Regions from separate parts of the Homo sapiens genome. Here region 1 is linked to region 2. Evidence: promoter capture Hi-C in human tissues and cell types (Jung and others, 2019). All regions are on one chromosome and are shown on one strand. The core of a region is centred on a gene start or on the middle of the fragment in contact, and the rest is flanking DNA. Distances in the headings are between cores, read along the strand shown.

Region 1 (2,865 bases), core at 67-2,566, 1.0 Mb before region 2:
AGTCACGTCTACATGCTTTTTAAATTTTAATTTTACAGTACTATTTGAAAGGCAACTTGAATGTGGTCTAGTCCCATAACTAGAGGGTCGGCTGAAATGAATCTATGTGGCTTCAAAAATAAATTGCAAATGTATCTTTCAGTTGTCAACCCTAATAGTTATCAATAACTTGCTTTGGGAAAGATCTTTCATCTCTATGTATTTACTATGATTAGACTCCATTAATACTATTAATATTAATAATAATATTAATCTCTGTGGCCTTTGCAAACAGTGGTGTTTATTTATTTGTAGCTGTTGGTTCAGATAGAACTGAAAAGGAGGGAAAGTGGTTTGTCTTAAGAAGGTGATGAGATGGAAAAGAACACCTTCTGGTTCTGAAGTGACCGCTTTCCACGTGCCATTTTCCCGGCCCTGCTGCCCTGTGACCTCTCCCAGGATCACTTAAGGAAAGAAAGAGGAGCTCAGACTTCCCTTCAGGGGTCTGACACCCTGGGGGCTTGGCTGCCACAGGAGTTTCTTGGCATTCAGGCTGGGGACATCCTAATTCTTGCACCTGAGAGGCCCTGTCTCTCTTCCTCCAACATTACTGACAGGCATCACGGGGTTAATTGGTGTGTGTCTAAGTTCCTTCCAAGGGAAAAGTTGTGCACATCCTTGTTAAGAGGAAAAGGAAAAAAAAAAGCTTGTTTTTTTCAGGAGGTCTACATGTTTATTGTTGAAAATGTGTATATTGACTCTCTGCTATGTATCTTCTTGTTTTTTTAAATTTTTACTTTGAAATAATTATAGACTCATATGAAGTTGTAAACATAGTACAGAGAGGTCCTGGGTACCCTCCACCCAGGTTCCCCCATTGGTTATATCTTATATAATTATAGTACAGTACCCAAACCAGGAACCTGGCATTGGTATATTGTGTGTGTATAGTTTTATGACATTTTATTACATGTGGAGAGCACTGAAACCACTACCACAATCAGGACACAGAACTGATTCGTCGCCACAAAGGGACACTGCGCTTCCCCTCCGCAGTCACACCCCCTCCGCCCCCATCGTCCCCAACCCCCGTAACCACTAATCTGTTCTCCGTGTCTATATTTTAGAAATGTTATATAAATGGAATCACACAATATATGACCTTTTGAGGCTGGATTTTATTTAATTAATTTATTTATTTGAGACAGAGTCTGGCTCTGTTGCCCAGGCTGGAGTGCAGTGGCGTGATCTTGACTCACTGCAACCTCTGCCTCCTGGGTTAAAGCAACTCTCGTGCCTCAGTCTCTCAAGTAGCTGGGATTACAGGCATGTGCCACCACTCTTGGCTAATTTTTATATAGTATTTTCAGTAGAGATGGGGTTTCATCATGTTGGCCAGGCTGGTCTCAAACTCCTGGCCTCAAGTGATCTGCCGGCCTTGGCCTCCCAAAGTGCTTGAATTACAGGTGTGAGCCACCATGCCCAGCTGGAGACTGGGTTTTTTGTTTTTTTGTTTTTTTTCACTCAGCAGGATTCCCTAGAGACCCATCCAAGTTGTGGCATATATCAATAGTCCATTCTTTTTTGTTGCTGAGTAGTACGCCATGGTGGTCATTAATTTTATGTGCCAACTTGGCTAGGTCATGGTACCCAGATATTTGGTCATGCGTTATTCTGGATGTTTCTGTGAAAGTATTTTTTTTTTTTTTTTTGAGACAGAGTCTCGCTCTGTTGCCCAGGCTGGAGTGCAGTGGCGCAATCTCGGCTCATTGCAAGCTCTGCCTCCGGGGTTCACACCATTCTCCTGCCTCAGCTTCCTGAGGTAGCTGGGACTACACGCGCCCGCCACTGCGCCAGGCTAATTTTTTGTATTTTTAGTAGAGACGGGGTTTCACCGTGTTAGGATGGTCTTGATCTCCTGACCTTGTGATCCGCCCACCTCGGCCTCCCAAAGTGCTGGAATTACAGGCGTCAGCCACCGTGCCCAGCCCACGCCTGCCTAATTTTTTGTATTTTTTAATAGAGACGGGGTTTCACCACTTTAGTCAGGATGGTCTTAATCTCCTGACCTCGTGATCCACCCACATCGGCCTCCCAAAGTGCTGGGATTACAGGCGTGAGCCACTGCGCCCGGTCTCTGTGAAAGTATTTTTAAGATGAGATTAACATTTACATCGGTAGACTTTGAGTAAAGCAGACTATTCTCTATAATGTGGGTGGGCCTCATCCAATCATTTGAAGGCCTTAATAGAACAAAGACTGATGTTACCCAAGGAAGAGGGAATTCTGCCAGCTGACTGCTTTGAGACTTGAGCTGCAACCTCAACTCATTCCAGCCTGGCAGCCTACCTTGCAGATTTTGGGCTTGCCAGCCTCCATAATCATGTGAGGCAATTCTTAAAATAAATCTCTCTCTCTCTTTACACACACACACACACGCTCGCACATGCATGCAGATGCACACCTATTGGTTCTGTTTCTCTAGAGAACCCTGACTAATACATCCATGGCATGGATATACTACAGTTTGCTCAACTATTCACTCATTGAAGGATATTTTGGTTGTTTCCAGTTTTTGGCTATTATTATAAATAAAGTAACAATGAATATTTGTATAAAGGTTTTTGTGCAGACATAAGTTTTTATTTCTCTGGGATAAATACCCAGAATTGCAATTACTGTGTTATAAGGTAAGGGTATGTTTAGCTTTTTAAGAAACTGCCAAACTATTCCCCAGAGTGGCTGTAGATTTTTATGTTCCTACTGGCAATGTGGGAGAGACCCAGTTTCTCCACATCTTTATCAGCATTTGCCATTGTTACTACTTTTATTTTAGAGGTTCTAATAGGTACGTCGTGATATCACATCATCATTGGTTTTAATGTG
Region 2 (2,943 bases), core at 303-2,802:
GGAGCAAGCGTGGGGAACGTGACTGGGGGCTACATGCATCGGCTAACAGAACAAAAAGTTTTACAGCGCTTTCTCATACAATGTCTGGAACTTACAGATAACACAAGTAGTTTTGGTCAGGGGTTAACATTATTATTATTATTTTAACCACCAAGGCCGGGTGGTGGCGCCAAGGTCGTCTAGCTATTTATCTTACTTCTGTTTCTTTCTAACTTTTTGCTGTCTCACTTTTCTCCTGTCTTATAAACTAGGGAAAAGGGGAGGTGGTGGAGAAGAAGCTGGGAGGGACAACAGGAGAAGTGGTGGTCTCATTCCATAGTATAAGCACATTTTTTCCAATAAGTCAACCTTAGCTTACTGTAACTTTTTCACTTTATAAACTTAGTATTTTAACTTTTCAAAAAACAAACAAACAAAAAACAAAAGAAACATCAGCCTATTACATATTTCCTCTTTAGACATCTGGACTCCTCTACAAAGAGGTGTCTATTTTTGATTTTATGGTGTCTAAGAACTTGGTCTCCCAGAGTGCCCTGTCCCCCAAAAGATGTTCAAAGCTGGCATTCTATAATCTACCCAAACTCTTCTGCTTTTGTGTTAATTACAGCTGGCTGCAGAGAGAGTCCAGTCCCGTGAGCCCCATCTTCCGCTTGAAGCTGTTTGACAGGTCCCCTGTGTGGCTCAGGGCCCAGCCTTTCAGATCAGTTCAATAAAACCCAGGGGTCTACTCCAAGGACACTAACCCATCACTTTCCAGTGCCTCGTATAATTACGCAGCCGACCCTAGAACGCCCTCCCCGCCTCCACGTCCCCTCTACATGAAGGCGCTAAGCCCAAAACTCCTCAGGTTTTTCCACAGGCCGTCGTCACTCCCTCTTTGCCACGGCGTTTGAGATTCTGGGCTAAGACTATTGGTTTCAGCATCTGGGATGTTTTCTCACAGCCGAGGACGCTGAATAGAAAACTGCCAGAAAGCGGGAGGGGTCCCCGGCAGCAGGTCCCGTTTTTTCTCCCCACCTGCCTCCCGGGTGCTGCGGCTTCCGCCACGACAGTCTCGACCCTGCACACGGATTTTTTTCCTCCGTTCCATGAACCAAACATAATGATTCTGGTTTACATATTTAAGCGAAGGGGAGAAGAAACGCGACTCTCAGGACCCAAGGGCTGAGGCAGGGTTTTTCTGTCTCAAAGACCTCCAGTTAAGACATTTTTCTCCTGCAAAGCCTTTCCTACAATGATGGCTTAATCGTGTAATTATGTAAACCAGTCACAACCTGGATAGCTAAAACAAAAAAACCAATTCCCTACGCCCGAGCCAAGCCTGCTCCCCCTCGCCGTGCCGCATCCCAAACACCCCGCGCTCGCTCAGCCAACGGCCAGGTTTCGGTTCAACCGAAAACCACGGGAAGTGGGAGGAGCTACTGGCTCAAGGGAGGGAGGTGGGACTTGACCTCCGAGCAACGGCCCCGGTGATTGGCCAACCTTCTGCCGCCGCCACCAATGGGCAGGCGCCCTGAAACGTTCGGCGAGCCGACTGCGGCTGCGCGGGGTATTCGAATCGGCGGCGGCTTCTAGTTTGCGGTTCAGGTTTGGCCGCTGCCGGCCAGCGTCCTCTGGCCATGGACACCCCGGAAAATGTCCTTCAGTAAGTGTCCGTCTGGTGGGGTGGGGAAGCCCAGGGGGCTGGGGCGCCTGGGGTTCGGGCCCGGCCCGCCCCAGACCTGCCTTCTTTTGCCCCCTTCGCCCCCTTCCTGGGTTTGGAATGTGTCCCACCCAGCAAGGCCGTGGGCTGCTTGAGAGCCGGGGAGGGCTCCGGCACCTTGGGTTCCGCTGAGGCCCGGCGCTTGTCCGCCCATCTGCGCCGCGGTGGCCGTTTGGAGCAATCTGGATAATTCGTTAGGCCCTCAGAGCTCTCGTTTATTCTTTGTAAGGAATCCCCTCCTGACAGTTCAACCTAACAAAAATCCTGAACCTTGTGTTTAGATTTTGTGATACGTTTTCAAAGTCACGTATTTAACAATTCGACTACAGTAGGGAACGAATTTAAAGTTGCTCTCCTATCCATAATCTCACTGCTATTTTTTAAAAGTCTTTGAATACAGGGTACTTTAAGAAAAAAAAATTGAAAAAAAATAGCTTTGCTCATTATTGAGTGATGTGTGCCAACCTGCTAACATCACTCACTTTTTACTTAAAGTTCCCACGCCTTTGTTTTATGACTTAGATGATTTACCCAGACTGTTACTTAAAGGCATTTAAAACAATTAAGTCATAGGTTCAGGAAGTAAAACTGGTCCGTTTTATCAGTTCTTTGCGATCAGAAGACCGAGATTGTTAAATGCAGTCAAAACAAAAATCCATTTGCTCTAAGACTTTTTCTGTAACCTTCAACCTAGCCAGCAAATTATTTTCTTTCAGAAGTCCCCCGCCCCTTTTTTAAAGGTAAAGCAGATATTCCTGGTCCTGTTTTGACTTACTAAAGATTAATGTGCTTTAATGAACTGGATGTTTTACTATTACAGTGCATTTAGGTCATTTTACTAGAGAAATGTGGTTGGTGTTAGAATATGAAATGTTTACCTTGGGCGAGCCTACTAGACATATTTTGGAAGAAAGGTTCTGAAATAGGGATTTGTCCCTCTGCTATAAGACATGAGAGACATTCAAACTTCAGAATTATTATTTTTTTTAGTTTTAAAAATAAGCAATGCGTTTATATGACTAAAAGAAGATTTAGAACAGTATTTACCGAGAACTCCTGTACCTGACTACTGTCCCACTCTGTCACATGTAACCGTTTTTCTAGTTTCTTTTTGGAAATATAAATATTTACATTATTATAATATATTAAATGTCTGCACGTTTGTATACATTTTTTGCCTTTACCACACATAAAATATAACAGTATATATATACGCTGCTCTTTTGCCTAACAATATCCCT

What was found. The method cuts DNA at HindIII sites, captures the fragments that hold promoters and counts their contacts. A contact is called where the count stands out against the background at its distance.
Region 1: a contact is called between a fragment that was not itself captured here and the fragment with the promoter of BUB1 in region 2, in 1 of the 25 tissues and cell types used here (aorta).

The regions. Positions count from the first base shown.
Region 1 is chr2:111,695,885-111,698,749 of GRCh38, reverse strand. No RefSeq gene overlaps it. Among named protein-coding and RNA genes, the nearest start is that of MIR4771-2, 74 kb to the left of the region's middle. The HindIII fragment of the contact is 6,648 bases long and covers 1-2,865 here.
Region 2 is chr2:110,676,672-110,679,614 of GRCh38, reverse strand. BUB1 (BUB1 mitotic checkpoint serine/threonine kinase) reads left to right here and starts at 1,552. Exons shown (of 25, transcript NM_004336.5): 1 at 1,552-1,645. The coding sequence starts at 1,620. It overlaps LOC105373554 (a long non-coding RNA gene), which reads right to left and starts at 1,403. Exons shown (of 2, transcript XR_923189.4): 1 at 1,018-1,403. RefSeq lists enhancers at 533-622, 883-942, 455-1,375, 1,376-2,296 and a silencer at 1,453-1,852. The HindIII fragment of the contact is 12,584 bases long and covers 1-2,943 here.